Linked DNA regions of Homo sapiens: all the other regions are linked to region 3. Evidence: promoter capture Hi-C in 16 types of primary human blood cells and fetal thymus (Javierre and others, 2016). All regions are on one chromosome and are shown on one strand. Each heading gives the region's core, a stretch centred on a gene start or on the middle of the fragment in contact. The rest is flanking DNA. Distances are from core to core; before and after follow the strand shown. Region 1 overlaps ARMC6 (armadillo repeat containing 6). Region 2 overlaps SLC25A42 (solute carrier family 25 member 42). Region 3 holds the start of HAPLN4 (hyaluronan and proteoglycan link protein 4). Region 4 overlaps GATAD2A (GATA zinc finger domain containing 2A). Region 5 overlaps SLC25A42 (solute carrier family 25 member 42). Region 6 overlaps ARMC6 (armadillo repeat containing 6).

The links. Contacts are between HindIII fragments. The CHiCAGO score rates a contact against its expected background, and 5 or more counts as called.
Region 1: a contact is called between a fragment that was not itself captured here and the fragment with the promoter of HAPLN4 in region 3, in 5 of 17 cell types (M1 macrophages, M0 macrophages, M2 macrophages and 2 more). The highest score is 12.6, in M1 macrophages.
Region 2: a contact is called between a fragment that was not itself captured here and the fragment with the promoter of HAPLN4 in region 3, in 4 of 17 cell types (M1 macrophages, M0 macrophages, M2 macrophages and 1 more). The highest score is 10.7, in M1 macrophages.
Region 4: a contact is called between a fragment that was not itself captured here and the fragment with the promoter of HAPLN4 in region 3, in 3 of 17 cell types (monocytes, erythroblasts and M1 macrophages). The highest score is 6.0, in monocytes.
Region 5: a contact is called between a fragment that was not itself captured here and the fragment with the promoter of HAPLN4 in region 3, in 5 of 17 cell types (M1 macrophages, M0 macrophages, M2 macrophages and 2 more). The highest score is 11.2, in M1 macrophages.
Region 6: a contact is called between a fragment that was not itself captured here and the fragment with the promoter of HAPLN4 in region 3, in 2 of 17 cell types (M1 macrophages and M0 macrophages). The highest score is 10.7, in M1 macrophages.

Annotation. Positions count from the first base shown.
Region 1 is chr19:19,052,893-19,056,780 of GRCh38, reverse strand. ARMC6 (armadillo repeat containing 6) reads right to left here. Exons shown (of 9, transcript NM_001199196.2): 6 at 2,460-2,629; 7 at 1,385-1,516; 8 at 853-990. Among named protein-coding and RNA genes, the nearest start is that of SLC25A42, 9.2 kb to the left of the region's middle. RefSeq lists an enhancer at 2,702-2,761. The HindIII fragment of the contact is 4,281 bases long and covers 1-3,888 here.
Region 2 is chr19:19,091,411-19,095,517 of GRCh38, reverse strand. The region is part of intron 1 of SLC25A42 (solute carrier family 25 member 42); the gene reads right to left. Among named protein-coding and RNA genes, the nearest start is that of SLC25A42, 29 kb to the right of the region's middle. RefSeq lists an enhancer at 241-740. The HindIII fragment of the contact is 6,803 bases long and covers 1-4,107 here.
Region 3 is chr19:19,261,288-19,265,135 of GRCh38, reverse strand. It overlaps HAPLN4 (hyaluronan and proteoglycan link protein 4), which reads left to right and starts at 2,332. Exons shown (of 5, transcript NM_023002.3): 1 at 2,332-2,406; 2 at 3,573-3,690. The coding sequence starts at 2,404. It overlaps TM6SF2 (transmembrane 6 superfamily member 2), which reads left to right. Exons shown (of 10, transcript NM_001001524.3): 10 at 263-770. The coding sequence ends at 472. The HindIII fragment of the contact is 10,345 bases long and covers 1-3,848 here.
Region 4 is chr19:19,503,831-19,508,107 of GRCh38, reverse strand. GATAD2A (GATA zinc finger domain containing 2A) reads right to left here. Exons shown (of 12, transcript NM_001384528.1): 12 at 1-2,764. The coding sequence ends at 2,634. Among named protein-coding and RNA genes, the nearest start is that of TSSK6, 9.6 kb to the left of the region's middle. RefSeq lists an enhancer at 2,615-3,115. The HindIII fragment of the contact is 3,777 bases long and covers 1-3,437 here.
Region 5 is chr19:19,109,711-19,113,860 of GRCh38, reverse strand. SLC25A42 (solute carrier family 25 member 42) reads right to left here. Exons shown (of 8, transcript NM_178526.5): 8 at 831-3,292. The coding sequence ends at 2,985. Among named protein-coding and RNA genes, the nearest start is that of TMEM161A, 27 kb to the left of the region's middle. RefSeq lists an enhancer at 607-901 and a silencer at 3,241-3,430. The HindIII fragment of the contact is 6,628 bases long and covers 1-4,150 here.
Region 6 is chr19:19,035,275-19,039,186 of GRCh38, reverse strand. The region is part of intron 2 of ARMC6 (armadillo repeat containing 6); the gene reads right to left. Among named protein-coding and RNA genes, the nearest start is that of ARMC6, 3.6 kb to the right of the region's middle. The HindIII fragment of the contact is 2,193 bases long and covers 1,220-3,412 here.

The DNA.
Region 1 (3,888 bases), core at 709-3,208, 210 kb after region 3:
CTATGCTGGGAGTGAGGAGGCGAGGAGGGCCCCGGGGGCTGCACGGAGGAGTCTGGGTTCAGCCAGGGAGGTGTGGACAGGGTGTCCCACACTCAGAACTCAGACCAGCAGCCCAAGGAGGGGGCAGAAACCTTTCTGAAACCCCAGGCAGATCCCCATCCACGCTTCCCCAACTTCTTTCTCCCCAGATCTCTCTATAGGGACTTTTAAAAAAGGAGATTAAGGGTGCGGTGGCTCACACCTGTAATCCCAGCACTTTGGGAGGTGGAGGTGGGTGGATCACCTGAAGTCAGGAGTTCGAGACCAGCCTGGCTAACATGGCAAAACCTTGTCTCTACTAAAAATACAAAAATTAGCTGGGCGTGGTGGCCCATGCCTGTGATCCCAGCTACTCGGGAGACTGAGACAGGAGAATCGCTTGAACCCAGGAGGCAGAGGTTGCAGTGAGCTGAGATGGCGCCACTGCACTCCAGCCTGGGCGACAGAGTGAGACTGTCTCAAAAAAAAAAAAAAAAAACCCACAGAAGGAGATTACGTGTTATAGCTTTCTTTCCAGGGTTTCACCAGAAAGCCCCTCCAAACTACCCCCTCCCCAAAAAAGGAGAGTAAATGCAGAAAAAACAAAGGCAGAGAAGGAGGCAAATGAAGGCAGAATTCAGCACATTTTGCAAGATGAGAAAGAAGTTGGCCCTATGGGGCTCGGCTGTGGGAGGGACAGGGACAGGGATAGGGATAGGGACTGAGCCTTTGCCCCATCACCCACCCGCACACCGCACCTGCTCCCATGCCCTCTCTGCACCTACCTGCACATCCCACACCAGCCTGCCTGCCCCCATCCCCTGCCCTGCCCACCTGCACGCCGGCCTTCTGCGGGTGTGCCTTCATGGCCTGCAGTGCTGCCACAGCCCCGCCACCCTCCACGATGATGCGGCTGTTGTCGGGCTTACGCAGGGCCAGGAAGCACAGGGCCGCGCAGCTCTGCTCACACACCTGCAGGGGCCAGTCACAGAAAGGCTGAGATGCAGCAGATAGACCCCCCACAACATCCTGCCATGGCCACCAACCCCTGGTGAACACCCTGCGGCCTCCCCTCCGTGGGTCTCTGGCAACTCCTGTGTAATAATGGCAGGGTGACAAAAATATCAGCTCAGCTCTTAGGGGTGACAAGGGCAATAGGCCTGGTCAGATCTTTGCAGGGTGCTGGTGGTAACTCCAGGACACCCAAAGTCATGCATACGCAGGTCAGCATTTGAGAGCCAATGCCCACGACCCTCACCAGCCCTGCCCTGGCCCTGCAGGGGAATAGAGCTTCATGCAGATACAGAAACTGAACTGGGACTCCAGCCACCACCCTGCTACTGTGTGTGCCCCCCGAGGTGGGTACCTGGGGGCTGGTCAGATGCTGGGTCATAGCAGCCACGATGGACTCCGTCCCACCAGCACGGACAATAGCATCTTTCACGTCGTCGTTGCCTGCGATGGCTCGCAGGGTGCTCAGCACTTGCTTCACGAGCTCCTGCACAAGGGAAAGGCCCGCTCACCTCCAGCCAGGCCGCTGGTTGTGGGAGAGGGCTCTGAGGGAGAATGTGGGGCTGTTTTGCTGTTTGACCAACAGGTATGGTGTGACTGCAGGGTGTGACTAACGAGAAGGGGTGGCAGATGCCTGTGGCTCAGGCTGCCTGTGTCCAAACGGTACCATCCAGGTGACTTGATCCCCTACCCCGACAGGGGCAGCGGGGGCATGTGACTCAGGCCGGCCTTCAGAGCACAGGGTCCCCCTGTCCACGGCCACAGACCCAGGGTAGGCGCTAACTGCCCTGCACTGAGGACAGTGGATGAGGTGCTACTGGGACTGCTGATCCCCCGATGGAGAACCTGAGGACCCTGCCCCCAACTGCCCAGGAGTACAGGGCAAAATGTATCCCTTCATTTGCTGAAGTTGGTTCCCATTCAGCTCCTGGCCACTTGCACAGAAAGAGGCTGGCTGACGTCAACAGCTGGGCTTGGGGGCGCAGGACCGTGGCACCCCTGGGGGCTTTCCTGCAGCTGCAGCTGGATAGGGAGGCACCTGTTGATTGGCTCCCTGCTGTGGATGGGCACATGGAGAAGGGCTCAATAATCGGCTGCTAAACGGAGTAATGAGTAGGGACACTGCTCTATTCTGTAGCTAGGGAAACTGAGGCAGAGGTGCGGGAACTAACCCAAGTATCCCAGCCTTGGCCGACACACCCCAACCCTATGCTTCCTACCATCCTTTTCCTGGTGCAAAAGGACAATAAGGGAGAGCAGGTGGGTTTGTTTCCCCCCCGACCTTTGGTTCCTGCCCTTGGGTCCGTGAAAAGAAAAACTGCACTTTGGTTCCGACACTGGCAGGCAGGGCTGGCTTGTTCTGACTATAGCTCGTCCGGTTGACTGGGACCCAGAAGGACAGCACGCAATGGGCCAGGGGGACTTCATACCTGAACGCCGCTCTGGTCCCTCATCTGGTGGTCATTGCAGTCGGCTAGCAGGGACACCAGAATGCTCAGGCCCCCGAGGTCGACGACCTCCTGGCAGAACTCGTTGCGAATGGCCAGGCGGGACAGGGTTCCACAGAGCTCGCTCAGGATGCCAGGGTTATCCAGGAACGCTGCAGGGAGAAAGGGAGACGGTGGTGGGGGCGGGAAGAACCAGCCGCAGGGCCCTCTGTTTTGGTGGAGATCCTGCTCCACTGGAAGAGTCCAGCCCTTCTGCCTATTGGAGTGGCCACGGGCACCAGGAAGGCCCCAGGGAACACCAGGGGCTACCTGGGCCTGCAGTGCCCCCTGCTGGCTGCTGGGAAGACTTAAGAATGTGCCCCCCAACCCGCTTCCTTCCATCATGCCCCAAATAAATTCCATACCAACTCATGGTCTCACCTAAAAAAAGAAAACTATAATAGTGCAAAAAAAAAAAAAGACATCTGAAGACTATTTTTATGATCATGGGGTAGGAATGGCTTCTCTAAGTGCAACAGGAAACTCCAGAACCATAGAGGGACACATACGGACTGGGCTGACGTGGCCAAAACTGAACACAGGAGCCGCAGATGGAGCCCAGAGGCGCTGCACCAGGAAGCAGGTGCCGGCACTCACGCCAAGAGGGCGAAGATCCTGCACCTACACAGGGCTGCGACGGTCAGTTCCTGTGACCACCTGTAGCCCTCTGCAGTTCCACCCAATGCCAATCTAGGTGTTGCCGTGGAGGTATTCTGTCCACATGGTTACCATCCACAATCAGCTATCTATTATTATTATTATTATTATTAATTTTTTTGAGACAGAGTCTCGCTTTGTCACCAAGGCTGGAGTGCAGTGGCGTGATCTTGGCTCACCACAATTTCTCCTTCCTAGGCTCAAGAGATCCTTGTGCCTCAGCCTCTCAAGTAACTGGGATTACAGGTGCCCACCACCACGCCCAGCAATTTTTGTATTTTTAGTAGAAACAGGGTTTCATCATGTTGCCCAGGCTGGTCTTGAACTCCTGGGCCCAAACAATCCTTCTACCTCAGCCTCCCAAAGTGCTGACATTACAGGCATGAGCCACCATGCCCAGCCCAGTTGCCTTTAAGTAGAGGAGATGACCTTGAACAATGTGAATGGGACTCATTCCATCAGCTGAAGTCCTTAGAAGGAAACTGAGGTGTTTCCCCGAAAAGGGGACTGCCTGGGGGTTTCCAGCCTGCCCTATGGAGTACAGACTTGCCATAATTGCATGATCCCATTCCTTACCAAAAAGTCTCTTCATATATACATATCCTGTCTCTGGCAGAAACCTAACTGATTGGAGCTCCTATAAATAAAACAGGAAAGATGTGAGCTACCTCCTGGAAAAGCAGCCTGACTTTGCAGAAGGTCGGGACTCATTTTC
Region 2 (4,107 bases), core at 189-2,688, 170 kb after region 3:
CTTCAGCCTCCCAAGTAGCTGGGACTACAGGCGCCTGCTACCACACCCAGCTAATTTTTTATTTTTAGTAGAGATGGGGTTTCACCATGTTGGCCAGGCTAGTCTCGAACTCCTGACCTCAGGTGATCTGCCTGCCTTAGCCTCCCAAAGTGCTGGGATTACAGGCATGAGCCACCGCACCTGGCCTTTTTTTTTTCCCCCACCCAGGCTCAAGTGCAGTAGAACAATCATAGCTCACTGCAGCCTCAAATTCCTGAGCCCAAGTGATCCTCCCACTTGGTCAGCTAAGGGTGTTTTTTTTTGTTTTTGTTTTTGCTTTGACAGAATCTCCCTCTGTAGCCCAGGCTGGAATGCAGTGGCATGATCTCGGTTCACTGCAGCCTCCGCCTTCCAGGTTCAAGTAATTCTTGTGCCTCAGCCTCTCAAGTACCTGGGATTACAGACGTTTACTACCAAACCCAGCTATTTTTTATTTTTTTATTTTTAGTAGAGCTAGGGTTTTGCCATGTTGGCCAGGCTGGTTTTGAATTCCTGGCCTCGTGTGATCCTCCTAACGTGGCCTCCCAAAGTGCTGGGATTACAAGCATGAGCCACCGCGTCCGACTGGGTTGGCTAATTTTTATTTTTCATTTTATATTTTGTAGAGACAGTGACTCACTATGTTGCCCAGGCTGGTCTGGAACTCCTGGGCTCAAGCGATCCTCTGGCCTCAGCCTCCCAAAATGCTGGGATTCCAGGCATGGCCACCGTGCCTGGTTAGTTCCCACGCTTTAAAATCATCCAGTAAATGAAAACGCATTACTGCAAAGTGAAGCAAAGGGTGCAGAGGCCCCAGAGCAGGCATCAGTGCCGGTGAGTGACGCTGTACAAAGTGCACTTGGGATTCTGCTACACCAGCCTCCACTGCTGACTCTCCTAGTGAACATGGACCCATGGGCACTGGCTCTGGGAGAAACACCTGCTTCAAAGATGGGGCCAGAGAGAAAGGAAGAGCCTAGAGCACGTACGTGGAGGTGCCAGTCATGGAGGGCATGTTCAGAAACAGAAACCAAAGCAGATGGGTGTGGCGAGGGGGTCATGGGCACCCACCGAAAGAACCCTTGATGGCCAAAGCTGGAACAGTTTGAGTAGAAATGGAAAAAAACATAAAGCATCATGGATGAAAGCCTGAACTATAAAATAACCATGAGTCCATATAATATAAAGAAATGACAGAGTAAGTAAGTACATGGTAGGGAAGAGACAAATCTCCCAGGCAAAGGATTCCCAAATAGCACAGCAGCTCGGACCTCCAAGAGGGGCCATGCCTCCTGCCCTCAGGTGTGGCTGCGCTTAGCGGCTTCTTTCCAAAGAGTGCAGTCTGGAAAGGGGGCTGTCAGTGACTGCAGCACAGAAACCTGATGGATCCCAGCTGGGCTAGGTGATCCAGGACAACGCTGGCTGGGATAAGTCAGGTGGACGCATGTGCCTCTGATGGAGTGTGACGACTAGGGTCTTCCTCCCCCAGATCCATCACCCCATCTGACCGTGAGAAAAACATCAGGCTGGGCGCAGTGGCTCACGCCTGTAATCCCAGCACTTTGGGAGGCTGAGGCGGGCAGATCACGAGCTCAGGAGTTTAAGACCAGCCTGGCCAACCTGGCAAAATCCTGTCTCTACTAAAAATACAAAAATTGGCCAGGCATGGTGGCAGGCACCTGTAATCTCAGCTACTCAGGAGGCTGAGTCAGAAGAATCACTTGAACCCAGGAGGTGGAGGGTGCAGTGAGCCGAGATCACGCCACTGCATTCCAGCCTGGGTGACACAGCGAGACTCTGTCTCGAAAGAAAGGAAAAAACACCAGACACATCCCACCGGAGGGGCATTCTCCAGCAGCCCTGACCACTGCTCCCCAAAACTGTAACGGTCACCAAAAACAAAGAGCCTGAGAAACCGTCTCAGCCCAGAGGAGTCTAAGGAGATGTGAGGACTAAAGATCAGGTGGGATCCTTGGACAGAGAAAGGACATTCAGGAAAAATGGAAGAACGTGAATAAAGTGTGGAGCTCCATTAATATTAATACCATCTCAGCACTTGTTCATTAGTGAGGCAAATGCAGCACAGCACTGTGAGAGGTTATGCGTAAGGGACGCTAGATGTGTGCGGTGTCGGGGAACTTGGTACAGCCTTTGCAATTTTTCTGTAAATCTAAAACTGCTCTCAGCTGGGCGTGGTGGCACGCACCTGGAATCCCAGCACTTTGAGAGGCTGAGGTAGGAGGATCGCTTGAGCCCAGGAGTTTGAGACAAGCCTGGGCAACATAGTGAGACCCCGTCTCTAGAGAAAAAAATTAGTTGGATATGATGGCATGCACCTGTGGTCCCAGGTACTCGAGAGGCTGAGGTGAGAAGGTCACCTGAGCCAAAGAGGTTGAGGCTTCAATGAGCCGTGATTTCAGCAGTACACTCCAGCGCAGGTGACAGAGCAAGACTGGGTCTCAAAAAATAAAAATAAACTAAACTGCTTGCAAACAGACAGAAACCAGGTCCTAAAGACCTTTCCCAGCCGGTTGCTGGGGGTCGGCATCTTTCATCATCAGCCCATGGGATGCACTGCGTCTGTTTCACTCCGCCCCCCACAACAATCAGCCATGTCTGACTACTGCCCAGCACCACCCCTGCCGCTACAGACCCTGGGGGCTGTCCTTGCACTTGGGCGCTTGGGTGAGAACGGCGCAGCCTCTCTACTCCTTGATTCCTAGAATCGAGGTGCTGGGTCAGGTGGCCTGGACATGTTCTGCAAAGTCACCTTCCCCAGAAAGGATTCAGCCATTTGCTATACCCCAACAGTGGGTGAGGTGCCCGAGGCCTGGGTCCTGGCCGAAGGGGGTCCCTCCCACCCTCCTGTGGGCTCTTGCTCTGAGCTCCTCAGGAGGTCACAGTCCTGTGAGGAACAGTCTCCCCAGAAGGGCATTGTGGCCTCAGACCCTCCCTTGGCTGCACCTGCCCAGCCTCTGTGAACAAGAAGAGCCACCAGACAGGGCTGCCTGCAGTGCCCATGGTACCATCCTTCACTGGATCACCTGCCCAGGGCCAGGGCTCAGCCTCGAGTGGCACCCACAGACATAGACAAAGTCACTGCACAACCTGGCTGGAACTACACAAGTGTGCTAGGCCCTGCAGGTGACAGAGCACTGAGGGCAGCTGGGGCTGGGGGACGTAACTGGAGGGGGTGGAACGATGGCCCCTGAAAGATACACCCTGCCCCCAGAACCTGTGAATGTGACGCTTTTAGGAAAAAGGGTCTGTGCAGATGTGATTAAGGCAAGATCTCTAGATGAGGGTTAGGGTGGGCCCTAAGTGCAATGACTGGTGTCCTTGTAAGAGACAGAGTAGGAGACACAGACACAGTGGGGAGGGTTGAGGATGAGGCCTGGAGCACGGTGGGCCACCACAGCCAGTGCATGATCCCACAGCACAAGAGCGGCCTGCTTCTGTTCCAGCTGCCTCATCCCTTGGTGAGGCCAAGGAGGGAGTCCCAGCACCACCAGCACCCGCCACCCTCCCTGTCTCAAGAGGAAGAGGGCCCCAGGGCACCAATGCCTGCAACCATCAGAGACACAGGTTTTCATGACATTCTTTTTGTTGTTGCTGCTGTTTTATAGTCAGGGTCTTGCTCTGTTGCCCAGGCTTGGGTGCAGTGGCATAATCATAGCTCACTATAGCCTCGACCTCCTGGTCTCAAGTGATCCTCCCACCTCAGCCTCCTGAATAGCTGGGATTATAGGCTCATGCCACCAGACCTGGCTAAGTTTTTAATTTTCTGTAGAGACAGGGTCTCCTTATGTTGCCCAGGCTGGTCTTGAACTCCTGGGCTCAAGTGGTCCTCCTGCCTCAGCCTCCCAAAGCGCTGGGATTCCAGGTGGGAGCCACCGCACCCGGCCATAACATTCTTCTGTTTCCACTGTACTTAATTTGTTTTTTCCCCATCACCTCCTATTTTGCAGAAATATTGAATTTATTTTTAATTAGTGATACAAACTACCCTTTATTTATTTTTATTTATTTTATTTTACTTTTGAGACAGAGTTTCATGCTTGTTGCCCAGGCTGGAGTGCAGTGGTGCAA
Region 3 (3,848 bases), core at 1,083-3,582:
GAGGCAGCGGAGGTTGCAGTGAACCGAGATTGCACCACTGCACTCCAGCATGGGCAACAGAATGAGACTGTGTCTCAAAAAAAAAAAAAAAAAAAAACAGATAGATGGACTGGAGATGGGAAACAGATAGATGAGCAAAGCCCGAGAGGTGGGGATGGGCATCCCCTGGGTTCTGCCTGACCTACCTGGGGGGCTGTCGGTGATGCTGGGATTTCAGTTCCTTCCTGGCCCCTGACATCCATCTTCCCTGTCTGGCTACCAGGCACAGTTCTCGCACATGGGGGCTTCCATGCACCTGCGCACACCCTTCACCTACCGTGTGCCTGAGGACACCTGGGGCTGCTTCTTCGTGTGCAATCTGCTGTATGCGCTGGGCCCCCACCTGCTGGCCTACCGTTGCCTTCAGTGGCCCGCATTCTTCCACCAGCCACCACCCTCCGACCCCCTAGCCCTCCACAAGAAGCAGCATTGAGAGAGCTGTGGACTCAGGACCCAGGACTCTGTTTACGTGCCCAGTCAGCCCTACCTGGGGAAGCGGGGGTTGGGTGTTTTAGAGACAGGAGGGACATCTCCGGGTGTCTTTAGTCTTGGCTATGGTAGTTTCAGTCCAGTGGGTGGGATGGAGACCAACGACCAAGTGTTCCTGCAAGGAGAGCCTCCCACAGCTGTCACCATGCTCCAACTCCCACACAAACGCTTCTACCCCTTCCAGAACTTACCCATCATCCCCCCATGGATCCTTTCAGTAAAAACCCTTTCAATTTCCAAAATATCACTGCCTAAGTGTTTCAGGGTGCAGGGGCAAGGGATCCTCTTCTTGGCCCCCATGAGGGCCCACCTATCACTGCCATCGTGGTTGCCAGGAGTGAGAGGTGCTGGGATAGCAGAAGGCGGCCTCTGGTTGGTATGCACGGCTCATCTTCCAGATGGGAAAACCGAGGCTCAGTATGGACAAGAGACCTGCCCAAGGTCATGGCCAGAGAGAAAAGTTCCTGCTCTACCAATAAATCATAACTAATAGCATGATACATTTATTAAGCACCTACTGTATACCTTGACTGCTACATGCTGGATCTCACTCCATATTCCAGATGGGGAAACCAAGGCTGCAGGAGGTGAAGGTCCTGGTCTGAGATCATTCCCCCGCTCAGTCCCCAAGGCATGGCTGAGCTAAGAGATGGAGCCCCAGCCTGTTGGACCACAGAAACCACAACTCTGCCTCTCCTATCTGGTCGGGTTGGGCTCATTTTAGGGGAAACTGAGTCCTGGAAGGAAGCCAAGGTGTTAGGAGAAAGACTCACTGTTTGCTATTGTTTGATTTTTTGAAATTGGGTGAAAGGCCAGGTTTAGGGGCGACTTGGGCCTGGAGTAAGTCAGGGACCTTGACCAGATGTCCCTTTTCCTTTTCTTTCTTTCTTTTTCTTTTTCTTTTTTTTTTTTTTTTTTGAGACGGAGTTTTCACTCTTGTTGCCCCGGCTGATATGCAATGGCACGATCTTGGCTCACCACAACCTCCACCTCCTGGGTTCAAGCAATTCTCCTGCCTCAGCCCCCTGAGTAGCTGGGATTACAGGCATGTGCCACCACACCTGGCTAATTTTGTATTTTTAGTAGAGACAGAGTTTCTCCATGTTGGTCAGGTTGGCCTCGCACTCCTGACCTCAGGTGATCCTCCCATCTTGGCCTCACAAAGTGCTGGGATTACAGACGTGAGCCACCGCGCCCGGCCTAGATGTCCCTTTTTCTTGCCCCTCCCAACCCCTACCGGAGATCTACTGTATGTCTAGCTACTGGATCTTCACCAAAGAGTCAGCAGCAGGCTCAGAGAGGCCAACTGTCTCCTCCAAGGTCTCACAGCCAGTGAGGGGCAGACTTGAATTGGGGCCTGTGGCTCCAGTCCACAGCAGAGTGTGACTATCGTGAGGCCCCCACCCTGCACAGGGAGCGCCTTTGGGGTGCTGGAGACCAGGACTCCACTATGACTACCCAATGGACAGGTGGCCTGCAGGCCAAATGATCTCTTTCACCAGATCCCCCAGGTCCCCTGCCAAAGCACAGTAACCAAGATAGAAGACTCAGCCCCCTCCTCCATTTCAAAGATGGTTAAACTGAGGCTCAGAGAGGTTCTTCCCTGGCCTAAGTTCAGCTAGCAGGGTGAGGGAACTAGCTCTGCACTCCAAGTCCAGAGCGCTTCTTTCTCCGCCCGCGCTCCAGCCACTGCTCCAGGGGAGCGTGGGCCCCCGCGGCCCCTTTAATACACCCCGCCTCGCCCGCCTTCCTCCTCCCCTTGCAGGCAGACGCCGGGATTGCGCCGCCTGCAGGGACCTGCCCAGTCTTAACCGGGTGTGCGGGGAGCGCAGTCCGGGTGCGTAGGGGCCGCTCGGCGGGGGCCGCGCGGGCAAGATGGTAAGTGGGGCTGCGGGCGCGGGTGGTGTGTGCCCCGTCTCCCCAATCTTGGATTCTATATCTCTCTGCCTCTGAATCTATATCCCTCTGAGTTTCTTCTGTCTCTTCCTTTTCTCTGTCTCTCACCCTCTTTGATCTCTCTTTTTGGCACTCTAGGTTCTCTCCCTCTCCATTTCTCCCTGCCTCTCTCCATCTCTGTCATCCTCTCTGCCTTTTTCCTCTCCTCTCCGTTTCTGTCTTTCCCTGTCCCTATCTCTCCCTCCTCTTCTCTGAGTCTCTCTGCCTCTGGCACTCTCCTGTCTCTCCCTCTCCCTTTCTGTCTCTCCCTCTCCCTCTCTGTCGCTCCCTCTGCCTCTCTGTCTCTCCCTCTGCCTCTCTGTCTCCCTCTGCCTCTCTGTCTCTCCCTCTCCATCTGTGTCTCTCCCTCTCCATCTCTGTCTCTTCCTCTGCCTCTCTCTCTCTCCCTCTGCTTCTCTGTCTCTTCCTCTCTGTCTCTCCCTTTCCATCTCTGTCTTTCCCTCTCCATCTCTGTATCTTCCTCTGCCCCTCTGTCTCTCCCTCTGCCTCTCTGTCTCTCCCTCTCCATCTCTGTCTCTCCCTCTACATCTGTCTCTTCTTTTCCATCTGTCTCTCCCTCTCCATCTCTGCCTCTCTCTCTTCCCTTCCCCTTTTTCTGTGTCGCGCACTCTCTTCTCTGCCTCTCCCTGCCTTTCTCTCTGTCCCTGTTCTCTCCCCGCGTCTCTCCCTCTTTCTCTCCAGCTCTCCCCCCTCCCTGCCCGCCCCGGCCCGGTTTGCTGCAGTCTCCTGGCGCACGGATAACCTTGCTGCCGCCGCTCCTCCAGCTCTTCCCCACCCCCCTATCCCCGGCCCGGGCCAGGGCCAGAAGGGGGCGGGGCAGCGAGCCTCGGGTTTTGGGGTGGGGGGGAATGAGGCGGGATCTGGGGCAGGACTGAGGGCGGGGGGGAGTCTAGGGGCGTGGGTTCTTGCAGAAGCTAGGATGTGAGGTCCCAAGAGGAGGAGGGGGAGTTCTCCAGGACCCCGGAAAGGGTGGGGACATGGGCGTGAGAGAGGTCCTCGCTGTGGGGAAGGCAGGCCCGGGAGGGAGCCAGGCCTCCGAAAAGCCAAGGCTGGGAGGCTGGACTGAGCGCCCCGTGCCCGCCCCCCAGGTGTGCGCTCGGGCGGCCCTCGGTCCCGGCGCGCTCTGGGCCGCGGCCTGGGGCGTCCTGCTGCTCACAGCCCCTGCGGGGGCGCAGCGTGGCCGGAAGAAGGTCGTGCACGTGCTGGGTGAGTCAGGGCCGCTAAAAGTGGTCTTCTCCGCGAAAAGCAGAAGTGGCCAAGTGCGGAGAGGGGTAGCGGGTAGGGCGTTCCTGACGTCCGCGGTTCCCCCAGCCACTCCCCATCTGAGCCCCTCGCCCTCTCCCTGAGCCCCTGGACCCTTCTGA
Region 4 (4,277 bases), core at 300-2,799, 240 kb before region 3:
GGGGGCTCCCACATTCTGACGGCTTGCAGGAACCTGATCCTGGTAGGGCTCTCGGGACCAGGACCCAGGCAGTGCCTGGTTTAAGAGGGTGTGCTTTGCTGTGGGTAGAACACCCTTAACATTAATCAATAGCTATCCTGGTGCGTCCAAACCCCACACCCAGAGAGGTACTTAATAATGCCTTCACCTGGAACATCATAAACGTCATAATACAACAACCCGCTTGGGGCTTATCGTAGAGGTTATGCTGCAAGGAACTGAAAGGAAATAATGGGCTAGAGTGTTCGAGACAGCAGAAATGAAGGAAAGATTAAGGCATCTCACACTTTTGCCCCCTGGGGGGAAAAAAAAAAAGTTTACATCACAGTATGTACGTTGTCCCTGATGGAATGCTCCCTGGGGACATGGGGCCGACCCTCTCCCTTTCGAGGGGCAGCAGTCCATATGAACTCACAAGGATGGGTTGACAGCCATCAGCCCTGGAGGAACAGCCAGGCCAGGCTGGGAGAGGTCAGGAGCTGGAGCTGGGGCTGGGGGCCGGCAGGTGCGGCTCGGATCTGGCCCCCTGGTCAGACCCAGCTGACCCAAGCTGGAGCAGGCAGAGGTGACTTCGGTCTGGATGCCTGATCCCCAGCCACTGCATAGAACTGAGGTTGGTTCGCTGGGGAGGGCTTTCAGTGGGAAGAAGCCAGCCTGGGTGCTCCTTCTGGGAGGAGCTGGAAGATCTGGCCCCTGTCATGGAACAGAGAGGGCTAACAGCTCAGGGTCGTAGGAGACAGGTATTTATTTGCCAGGCACACAGAAAAATGCGAGGAATAGAAATGCTTGCATACTCTTGATTTTTTTTTTTTTTTTTGGTGTAAAAAACACACCCTCCCCTCCCACCCCAAAAAACATCAAATTCCTTCCTTTTCCCCAAATCCCTGGATCTTGGAATGAAAGCCACCCTTCCCCAATCTGTCCTCACCTCCTTCAGCCCATCCAAGTTATGCACAAAAAAACAAAAATTAGTGAGAAATTTGGGGATTTGCACAACAAAAAATTAGATAATGTTTTCCAAAACTAGGTCTTCTATGCTGTGTCAAAAAAAGTTTCCTACAGACTGAGGATATTCACACGACAGGAGCCTGGGGGTTAAATGAGCCTTTATTAGAATGTTGTAGCAGTTGTGTTTGAAGGCGGTGGCCCTACAAAAAAAAAATTAAATTAAAGTCCCTAACTGCATGGGTAGGAAAACCAGGGCTGGAGCTCAATTGGAACCAGTGGAGCCCAGAACTCATGGAGACATACGTATGTACGTGGGCACGGGACGCCCTCGCACTGGCATGAAGCCGGCCCAGCCTGCAAGAGACACGGAACGGCTTCTGCCTTTCCTCACGGAACCAGTTTTTAAAGAGTGGGACGGGAAAGAAACAAAAATGAAACTAAAAGCAGACCTGATCCTTTTAAAAACATTTTTGTAGACTCTAAAGGGAATTACAAAAAAAAAAAAAGTCTGAAAGCAAATCCTGACAGCAACCCCTAGGTTTAAGGACAGGTTCTAAACTAGACCCAAACGGAAATCCTGACATCTGTGCGCAGCGGCTCGCCGCACACCTGGACGGCACCTCCTGACCTGCACACACCTGTGCACGCTCACCTCCCAGGAGCAAGGCCAGGGTGGCTTAAGATTGCGTCCATCGAAATGAATAGAAAAAAGGAAAAAATTTAATAAAATAAACCACAACAGAAAAACCCCGCGACAGTCCCCCCTCCAGCTTTCTGCTCAGGGCTGCTGCCGACCGGATCCTCTCCTTCTCCCTTAATGGGCAGCTTCTGGAATCCCTGCTTCTCTGGCTGGGTCTGTTCTTCAGTTTGTTCTTCTGCTAAGTCTGGAAGGTGCGGGGGCGGGGGTCTCCAGAACAAGCAGCAATGGAGGCGTTCAGCTGGAGCGAGGGCTGCCTCGGCCATCCCTGCATCTGTCAGTCAGTCACGGGGGCGGGCCGGCCGTCCCTGCCAGGGGCTGTGGCACCATGAGCCGCCCACCCTCCAGGGCACAGGGCCAGCGGGATGATGCAGCGTACAACAGGGACCCCAGGGTCTGCACGGTTTACTTTTAACTCCATCATCATGAGGTGATTAAAAAAAAAAAAAATCTTTCAACTTATAGATCGCCATGGGAAGGCAGTCAAAGACTGGGAGCCTAAGACAGGGAAAAGCAAAAAAATGAAACACCCCGCTCGGTTCAGAAGCCCCGGGCGCTGGCCTTGCCCATGCGCATCACAGTGTCCAGGGTGAGCCGCCCGTGTGCCGGCAGGGGCTGAACAAGGGGGCCAGGAGCAGAACCAGCCCCCAAGGTCCACTTTTCTGCTGGTGTCGGGCAAACTAAAGGCAAAGAGAGAAAGGAAGAAAGCCCACGGGAAAGGTCCCCCAGCGATGATCCTCGTCTGCCTATGAGGCGGCACCAGCCCCCTAGCCCTGATGAAACTTTGCAGCCAAGAATTGAGGTCTTGCCTCTGCAGCATGGCCGGTGCTTGCTCTTGGGGCGGGCACGGTGTCTTCCCGAGCCAGCGGAGGGTGGTGCAGTGGGTCCTTCTAGACCAGGGGCCAGGTGGGGGAGGAGGGAGCCCGTCTTCCACGGGGCCTGGCTCGCACTATTTCCACGTGGCTGACTGGGGGATGGAGCGGGGTGGGATCATGTCCAGGAGGTACTCTCGCTGGCGGTCCACGGCCGAGGAGCTCTTGTGCACCGCCAGGCTTGGGCTGACAAACGCAAGGGTCCCGCCTGCAACAGAACAGAGCGACCAGCTGAGAAGGCCCTCGTCAGGAGGGCTCCTGGGAGGAGCCCAGCCATAGCTGCCTAGACCCCAGCCCCAATACAGACTAAGGACCCAGGAGCCCTTGCAAACCCACCCACACTACTCCTCAATCAACGTTTCAAATCCCAGGCCCCCCCAGAGCTGAAGAGTATTTAGGCAGCAACTCAATGGCCTTGACATTGCCAGGCTCTGCCAAGGTAATCCCAAGTGTGGGGCAATCATCAGAGGGTGAGCAGCTACCTACGTTCTACAGAAATGAAGGTGCTGACCACGGTGCTGCTTAGAACAGTGGAAAACCATAAACAAATGTGTGCAACAGGACAATAATGCAGGATGGAATACTATGCAGCAATGAAAAACTATCTTAGCTGGGCACGGAGGCTCAGCCTAGAATCCCAGCACTTTGAGAGGCTGGGGGGTGGGAAGACTGCTTGAGGCCAGGAGATAGAGACCAGCCTGGGCAACATAGTGAGGCCCCATCTCTAAAAAAAATATCAGCTGGACATGGTGGCACATCCCTGTAGTCCCAGTTACTCCAGAGGCTGAGGTGGGAGGATTGCTTGGGCCTAGGAGATCCAGGCTGCAAGAGAGCTATGATCGCGCTACTGCATTCCAGCCTGGGCAACATAGCAAGAAGCTTCTCCAAAAGAAGAAAAAAAAAAAAAAAAAGGAAAAAAAAACTATCTCCTACCCTCAAGTGTTGTTGTTGTTGTTTACTGGTCTCAAACTCCAGGCCTCAAGCAATCCTCCTACCTCGGCCTGTCAAAGCACTGGGATTATAGGCACGAGCCACTGTGCCCAGCTCAAATTTTAATGCGTCCAGTAAGGGTCTCTCATTAACACACAAAGTAGCCAACGCAAGACACACATTTCCACAAAGGACCCTCAAGTGAAGGGGAGACACTGGGGAAAACCCTTAAATGTAATATTTGTTCACCTGGGGGAGGAAAATACAAGCCATTGCCACAGTCTTTTCTCTCTGTATTTTCCAAATTTCCATGATGGACAAATATCATTTTTATAATTGGAAAATAAATAAATGCCCCCACCCAGCACACGCAGAATTTTTGGCCAGAGTTGGAGGTAAGGGCTGCCCCAGACCCCTTGAGATGGGGTCTCACTCTTGCCAAGGCTGGAGTGCAGTGGCACAATCAGTGCTCACTGCAGCCTCAACCTCCCATGCTCAAGCGATCCTCCTCCCTCAGCCTCCTGGCTGAGTAGCTGGGACCACAGACACATGCCATGTGCTTGGCTAATTATTTTTTTGTAGACACAAGGTCTCACCATGTTGCCCAGGCTGGTCTCAAACTCCTAGGCTCAAGCAATCCTCCCATCTCGGCCTCACAAAGTGCTGGGATTACAGGTGAGAGCCAGCATGTCTGGCCCTAAGAGTATTTTTAGTGGTGGCTAATACATTTTGTGGAAAAAGCGTTCCCAGGTCAAATGTTCTTAGGAACCAACCCTGTGTGCAAGGGCAGC
Region 5 (4,150 bases), core at 1,565-4,064, 150 kb after region 3:
GGCCTCCCAAAGTGATGGGATTAAAGGCGTGAGCCACTGCATCCGGCCTAATTTTTCTATTTTTTTGTAGAGATGGGGGGTCTTACTGTGTTGCCTAGGCTGGTCTCAAACTCCTGGGCTCAAGCAAGCCACCTGCCTCAGTCTCCAAAGTGCTGGGATTACAGGCATGAGCCACCACACCCACCCTGGTAAATGTCATCCTGGGGATCCTCTAGGAGAAAACCGCACAGCTGCTGAACAATGTGCACAACGGAGACCAACTCAAAAGAAATCCTGTTGCACGTGAGCAGATTGGAGAGCAGTGGGGGGTCAGCGCAGTGGAACTTATTCCTACTCCCACCCCAACAAGAGCACCAGGCCTGTGCTGGCCCAGCCGCCCCTCCTCTCTGGGCACGCAGAGGCTCCCACTTCTGGCCTGGCAGTGGGTGGGTCCTCCAAGTTGCTCTGGCCAATGGGCTGCAGGTGAAGTGAGCCAGGATTGCCACTGGAGACCCTCTGGTGGCTGCCCCTGCAGATGGTGACTGACGTTCAGGCCTGAAGCCTCAGCCAGCCCCAGAGTGCAGGGCTCTTGGGAAGGAAGGCCATGTTCAAGCCCATGAGACTTTGGGCTGTGCTGGCTGCACAGAGACGGCCCCTCCTGCCTTTGTGGGTGGCCACATATATCCTGAAAGGGATGAGTGTATGCACAGAATCTCTGTGGGAGGAGACAAGAGAAAATGGTCACAGGAGGCCCCCTGCAGAGGGAACTGTTCACCTACTTTTCACTGTAAACCCTTGTGGACAGCTGGTGTTTTCTGGAAAATTGTGGTATGTATTAATTCAAACAACAATTGCATTTAAAAACTTCTTTATTCAAGACTTTTATTCAGAACTTTTATCACAAATGTGTCAAAAGCACTTCAACCCTGTTTGGGGGTTCATGGGGGAAGATGGGGGGGCGGTCAGAGCCAAAGAAGAGCCAGGAGCAGGAGAAGAAGTCATTTAAGTTTTTATTAAATATACTCTCTTGGCACAAATCTTTAAAATATATAAACATTAGATATAAACAGTGTCTTCATGGCATCAAAATATAACTCCAGACCAAGACCAGTGACCAGCAGGGAGGCGAGTGACCGCAGAGCCTGAGGGCCTGGCTGTGTGCAGGGGTGGGGGACAGCACTGTCCCCAACTCCTGCCGGGTCCCACTCAGCTAGGAGCCATCTCCGGGGAGACACACTGGGGTCAGCAGGGACTGGGGGACCCTCCCACCTACCCCTTGTCTCTCCTGCCTAGCCTGTGGCCCCAAATCCACTCATTTGGTCTCACCCACCTGGGGCAGACCCCCAATTCCTACTGCTGTTGCATGCTTGTGGGAGTTGGGTGCCCTCCCATCTCCCTGTGAGGGTTGCCCTGCCTCTCCTGCCAAGTTTAAGTGCTGGGTAAGGGATACCCACACAGTGGGACAGCCCCTCACAGCCATCACAGGCTGCCTGGGCCTCTGGGGACAAGATCAGGGATGGCTGGTGGCCACATGCAAGGAAGGCAGAGAGAGCGGTCTGCACACCTGCAGGTCCAAGGCAAGAACAGGAGGAGGACAGAAGGAAGGGAAATGAAGTCACGACTGGAGATGAACAAGCTCAGATCCCTTCACACAGCGTGTGCTGAGCCAGCTGTCGAAAGCAACACTCACGGTCACGCTCACCCTGGCACCAGGCAGACCAGTCAGGGGTTCGATGTGAATAGATCATAGACCCGGGGTCAGCCAAGTTGAAAACCAAAACAAAACAAACAAAAAAAAGAAATCAAGAAACTCACCATGTCATTAGGAAATGGGTGTTTCTGAGTCCCTGTGATAGCTGGCGGGCCCTGGGGGACTCCTCTGAGAGACCAGTTAGCTGGGGGTTCCCCTGGGTACCTCAGATTTTCCTCACCTCCCACCCCCAAGCTATACTCTATCATGAGGCTCCCACTTCGGGGGATTGAGGCTAGCAGGCACCCCATGCTCCATTTCATAGAAACTGAACAACCCCTGTGGGCTTTAAATTGCTCCATATCCCAGCCAAGTGCCTGCTCAAGTGGGGACCCAAGGACCTGCTGGATACCACAGCTGGGCAGAGGGTTGGGGCACTGAGATGCTAGGCCTGGGGGGCTTCTGGGCCAAAGGAGGTGGTTTGTGTGCTCACATTTCAGCAGATGCCCCAGGATGCAGGTCTGACCCAAACCTGAGGCAGTTCCGTGTCATGGCCTGGGCCTCGAGCCCTGCTGTGCAGAGCAAGCATGAATCTCCTGGGAAGGTTACAAAGCAGGTGGGCATGGGCAGGCAACTCTAGGGGGAGATGCACTCTTGGGGACCCAGCTGCTTGCAGGGTCTAGGATAGACATGAGGCTCTGGGGGACACTGTTCCCAGCAGGAGGCTCTAGTGACTGAGGAGTCGTGGCCATGTGGGAAATACTGGAGAAGGCAGGGCCGGCAGGGTGGGGTGGGCCAGGGGCTGCATTTGTGGCCAAAGCTGAGCACGAGGCTGGCCCCATCCTGGGCAGGGTCCGCCTGCAAGAAAGGCGCCCCCGCACCCTGGAGGCCGGGCAGGCACGTGGAGTCAGAACAAGAAGGTCCAGGCGCGGTCTGGCTCTGAGCCTGGTGGGGACAGGGGTCACTAGAATCAGCAGCATGTCGGAGGACACACAGGATCAGGAGGTGGAGCTGACCACGCCCCACTAGGGCCTTTTGGGCAACACCTCCGGCAGACAGCGCCAGCGTCTGCAGAGGAAGGAAGAGGGGAGCTGCGGGACCCCCCACACCATCGCCCCAACACTGCACTTCCAGGGCTGCCAGCTTTGCGTTTGGACGTGGACTCTGAGCCCAGGCCCCTCAGGCCCACCTGCTCGTTCCATAAAGCGCCCCATGTGCCTCCTGAAGTAGAATCAAGCGCACCCCCCCACCGTTCCATGGGCCCAGAATACAAAGGGGTCACCGGTCCACCGTCCTGAGAGCAGCTCAGGGTCCCCTAGCTCTGCAGGTGCCGCAGCAGGATCTGCATGAGGTCGAAGGTGGTGAAGCTGATGCCCACGGCGATGGGACCCTTGACCCAGTTCATGCTCAAGCCTTTGTAGAGGCCGCGCACGGCGCCCTCCTCCCGCACGATGGTGCGCAGCGTGCGGGCGATGGAGGCGCGCGGGTAGCCCGTGACGCCGGCCGTCTGCATGCGCCGCCGCACCACATCCAGCGGGTACGAGGCCGACTGCCCGATGAGGCCAGCGCAGGCGCCGAAGATCATGCGCTCGAAGGGGTAGGGCTGCCGGCGGCCGCTGTACTCTGCAGGGCGAGGGGCGGGAGGGCCGTGAAGGCGCCGCGAGGGGGCGCGCACCCCGCACCCGTGCGCGCGCCTTTGCACCCCTAGGAGCAACCTGCGTGCACATACACACATGCACTTGCACCCCCACGTGTGTTCGCACTCATGCGCACCCACACGCCCCACTGCCTCACCTCCGGGTCGCTCCTTTCACTCAAACTCGAGAAATAAAAAAAATTTTTTTTTTGGAGATGTAATTTCACTCTTGTTGCCCAGGCTGGAGGGCAATGGCCCAATCTCGGCTCACTGCACCCTCCGCCTCCCGGGTTCAAGCAATTCTGTCTCAGCCTCCAAAGTAGCTGGGAATACAGGCATGCACCACCACGCCTGGCTAATGTTGTATTTTTAGTAGAGACAGGGTTTCTCCATGTTGGTCAGGCTGGTCTCAAACTCCTGACCTCAGGCGATCTGCCTGCCTCGGCCTCCCAAAGTGCTGGGATTACAGACATGAGCCACCGAGCCCGGCCGAGAAATAAAATTTCTTAAAAGGCAGAAACACAGAGAATCATAGAACCAACTCCTAGAGCCACTGCTCACATCTAATCAGCTCTACTCCACGTCTAGTAAAGGAACATTCTAGGTGCTCCCGTGCCTGGTCCCCGACCTGCGCCCTCCCTGGGGAGCCCCTGCGAGCTGTTGCACAGAGTGGACATAAGTGACCATGAACTTCACCCTGCTCTGTCTTGCGGGTCTAAACGGGGTGTGTGGGTGTGGAGGAGGAAGGAGCAGCAACAGGTCAGTAGGGGTACTTTAAACATTTGTAATAGTAAATTTAGAACTAGGAATTTAAAACAGCCAAGGCTGGGTGCAGTGACTCACGC
Region 6 (3,912 bases), core at 1,067-3,566, 230 kb after region 3:
CTCCGGTCTGGATGACAGAGGGAGACCATGTCTCCAGAAGAAAAAAAAAAATTACTAAATCAAATGAGTGAATATTATGGTATGTAAATTATAGCTCAATTTCTTAAAGTGCTAATCTGTTTAAAAACAAAAAGAACTGAGCAATGACTTGTGCCTGTAATCTCAGCAACTTGGGAGGCTAAGGCGGGGGGATCACTCAAGCACAGGAGTTTGAGACCAGCCTGCGGCAACACAGTGAGACCATATCTCTTAAAAAAAATGTGTGTGTGTGTGTGTGTGTGTGTGTGTATACACACAAACCCACCTTATAAAATAAAAATAAGCAAGTAAGGCCAGGCATGGTGGCTCATGCCTGTAATACCAGCACTTTGGGAGGCCAAGGCAGGCAGATCACCTGAGGTCAGGAGTTCAAGACCAACATGGCGAAACCCCGTCTCTACTAAATATACAAAAATTAGTGGGGCGCCTGTAATCCCAGCTACTCGGGAGGCTGAGGCAGGAGAATGGCTTGAACCAGGGAGGTGGAGGTTGCAGTGAGACAAGATCACGCCATCGCACTCCAGCCTGGGCAACAAGAGCAAGACTTCGTCTCAAAAAATAAATAAATAAACAAACAAGTAAAACCCAGTATAGGCATACCCTGGAAACCAGGGGTAGGTATCAACACTTAGATGACCCACTAACCTTGGGCAGTACCTTCCACTCTGACAGGTGGGAACAAGACATAGAGTTAAGTAAGATAAAACTCTTGGTAAAAACACCAAATCCCTTTGCAATTCTGTTTCAAACCTGTAGCTCAGCAGTCCCAACCTTTTTAGCCTAAGGGACCAGTTTCGTGGAAGACAATTTTTCCATGGATATGGTGGGGCTAGGGTGGGGATGGTTTCAGGATTGTTCAAGCTCATTACATTTATTGTGCACTTTATTTCTATTATTGTTACATTGTAATATAATAATTATACTATTCACTGTAATGTAGGATCAGTGGGAGCCCTGAGCTTGTTGTCTGGCAACTAGACAGTCCCATCTGGGGGTGATGGGAGATAGTGACAGATCATCAGGCATTAGATTTTCATAAGGAGTGCCCAACCTAAATCGCTTGCATGTGCAGTTCACAGTAGGGTTCGTGCTCCTATAATTTAATGCTGCTGATCTGACAGGAGGTAGAGCTCAGGCATAATGCAAGTGATGGGGAGTTGCTGTAAATACAGATGAAGCTTCACTCGCTCACCCTACGCTTGCCTCCTGCTGTGCAGCCCAGGTCCTAACAGGCCAGGGACCACTGGACCAGTATGGGTCTGTGACCCAGGAATTGGGGACCCCTGCTGTAGATGATCTTAACCAGAAGGTCTTGACAGGGTACGAGTGAACCTAACATTTGCCACCGTCCCTTTGGAACAAAAGGAGGAACAGGCCTTAGGTCCAGAGCCTAACAGAGGTTAACAACTTTTTAAATTTTAATTGTTTCAATATATCCACCTTGCTTATTGCAGTAATATCAAGTTTCCGTTCTGGAATTATCAAGTTTCCACTTCAGGCCAGGCATGGTGGCCTGCACTTTGGGAGGCCGAGGCGGAAGGATCACATGAGGCCAGGAGTTTGAGACCAGCCTGGACACGTGGCGAAACTCCATCTCTATAAAAAATACCAAAATTAGCCAGGTGTGGGAGCATGCACCTGTAGTTACAGCTATTTGGGAGGCTGAGGTGGGAGCCCAGGGAGGTCAAGGCTGCAGTGAGCTGAGATCATATCCCTGAACTCCAGCCTGGGTGACAAAGTAAGACCTTGTCTCAAAAAAAAAAAAAAAGGAAAAAGAAACAGGTCACTCTGGCCCATGCTTCTCTTTTCAGGCAGTGGCATGGGATATACACATTCCATCTGTGTTCCTGCAGATGCCCACCATGGACTGCACACTGCCTGACGGGAGAAGGACTGGCTCGCAGCCAGCCTGCAGAACCCAGTTCCCATGCCCTCCACTTCAATGCCCTTTTCTTTTTTTTTTGAGACAGAGTCTCGCTCTGTCGCCCAGGTTGGAATGCAGTGGCACGATCTTGGCTCACCACAACCTCTGCCTCCTGGGTTCAAGCGATTCTTGTGCCTCAGCCTCCAAGTAGCTGAGACTACAGGCCCACGCCACCACGCCCAGCTAATTTTCGTATTTTTAGTAGAGACAGGGTTTCACCATGTTGGCCAGGCTAGTCTCGAACTCCTGACCTCAGGTGACCCACCTGCCTCGGCCTCCCATCATGCTGGGATTACAGGCATGAGCCACCACGCCCAGCCAGATACACTTTTCTTCAATTCCCTCATGTGTCAAACAGAGATAAACACGAATCTACTTCATAGGGCAGTAGTGAAAAATTCAGCCAACTCCTATACCTTCCTCAGAACAGGATATGGACAGGCTCAATAAATTAGCTATTTGTTCCTTTCCTTTGTTGCTTAAGAGGCAATTCAGCAAGTTTATGCAGGAGTCCCATCTCACTCTTTTGCAGATAGGCCCCTCTCCTTTCTGCCCCAGAAGAAAAGGGAGCTCTTTAAGGGCTGCTATGGATTTCCAAGGTTAAAGGTGAAGGAAGAGTAATATAAAGAGTTTCTCAGTAGGGAGTAAGGAGTAGGGGACTCCACTCCCACCACCCCGGCCAGGCCAGGAAATTCCTTGTGGCCCTCAAGATCTTTACCTGAAAACAATTTTGTTGAATGTCACCCTGGCAATGTAAATTGACAGGTGATCTTCACAAGTGCAGGACAGAAAGTCATCACCTGAGACAAATGCATATCCAGTTGCTCTCTCTGCCCTAACGTTTATGTAAAAATGCAGATTTGGCCTGGCTCCGTGGCTCATGCCTGTAATCCCAGCATTTTGGGAGGCTGACACCGGTGGATCACCTGAGGTCAGGAATTCGAGACCAGCCTGACCAACATGGCGAAACCCCGTCTCTACTAAAAATATAAAAATTAACTGGGCGTGGTAGTGGGCGCCTGTAATCCTAGCTACTCAGGAGGCTGAGGCAAGAGAATTGCTTGAACCCGGGAGGTGGAGGTTGCAGTGAGCCAAGATTGCGCCATTGCACTCCAGCCTGGGCGACAGAGCGAGACTCTATCTCAAAAAATAAAACAAAAAACAAGAAACAAAACCTCAGATTCATGAGTCGGACTGAGGCATAAATGACTATTCCTCTACCTGCCCTGTACCCCATATAAATCGTGTATTCTGTGAAAGGCTGACCAAAGACTCAAAAGAAAGCAATCATTTGTCTCTACCTGTGACCATCTTACACATATTCATTTATATCTCACGTCTCCCTAAAATGTATAAAAGCAAGCTGTGCCCCAACCACCTTGGGTACATGTTGTCAGGACCTCCTGAGGCTGTGTCACAGACATGTCCTTAACCTTGGCAAAATAAGCTTTCTAACTGATTGACACCTGTCTCAAATACTTCGGATTCTCAGTCCTCTGTGGAGCTTCTGCCAGCCCTTCCAGGTGGCTGCCTTTCCTGGCCACTCAGAGAGCCCACACTCTCTGGCTTCACTCCCCAACCCACAACCCCTCCCTTCCACCCACCCCTGAGCTGACTGAGTTGGGAAGGTCTGGCTCTGTGACCACCCCTGACCTGAGTCCTCCAAGGTCCCCTAGATCTGGTACAGGGCTGAGTTGGAGGAGGAAAGTACAGATTTGGAACACATAAGATGGTGCCTGGAGATGGCCAAGTAAGAATTACCTGGAGAACAGCCTAGGCTAAAAGGGGGAAGCAGCATTACCAGTCCCTATTATCCATCAGGGCATGCTGAGGGTAAAACAGAAGATGAGTAAGGCCCCTAACTGGCAGCCAGTTTCCTTCTCTCAGCCAGGAATCTGCTCATCAAGAAAACTGTGCTGTCCAGGTGCGGTGGCTCAGGCCTATAATCC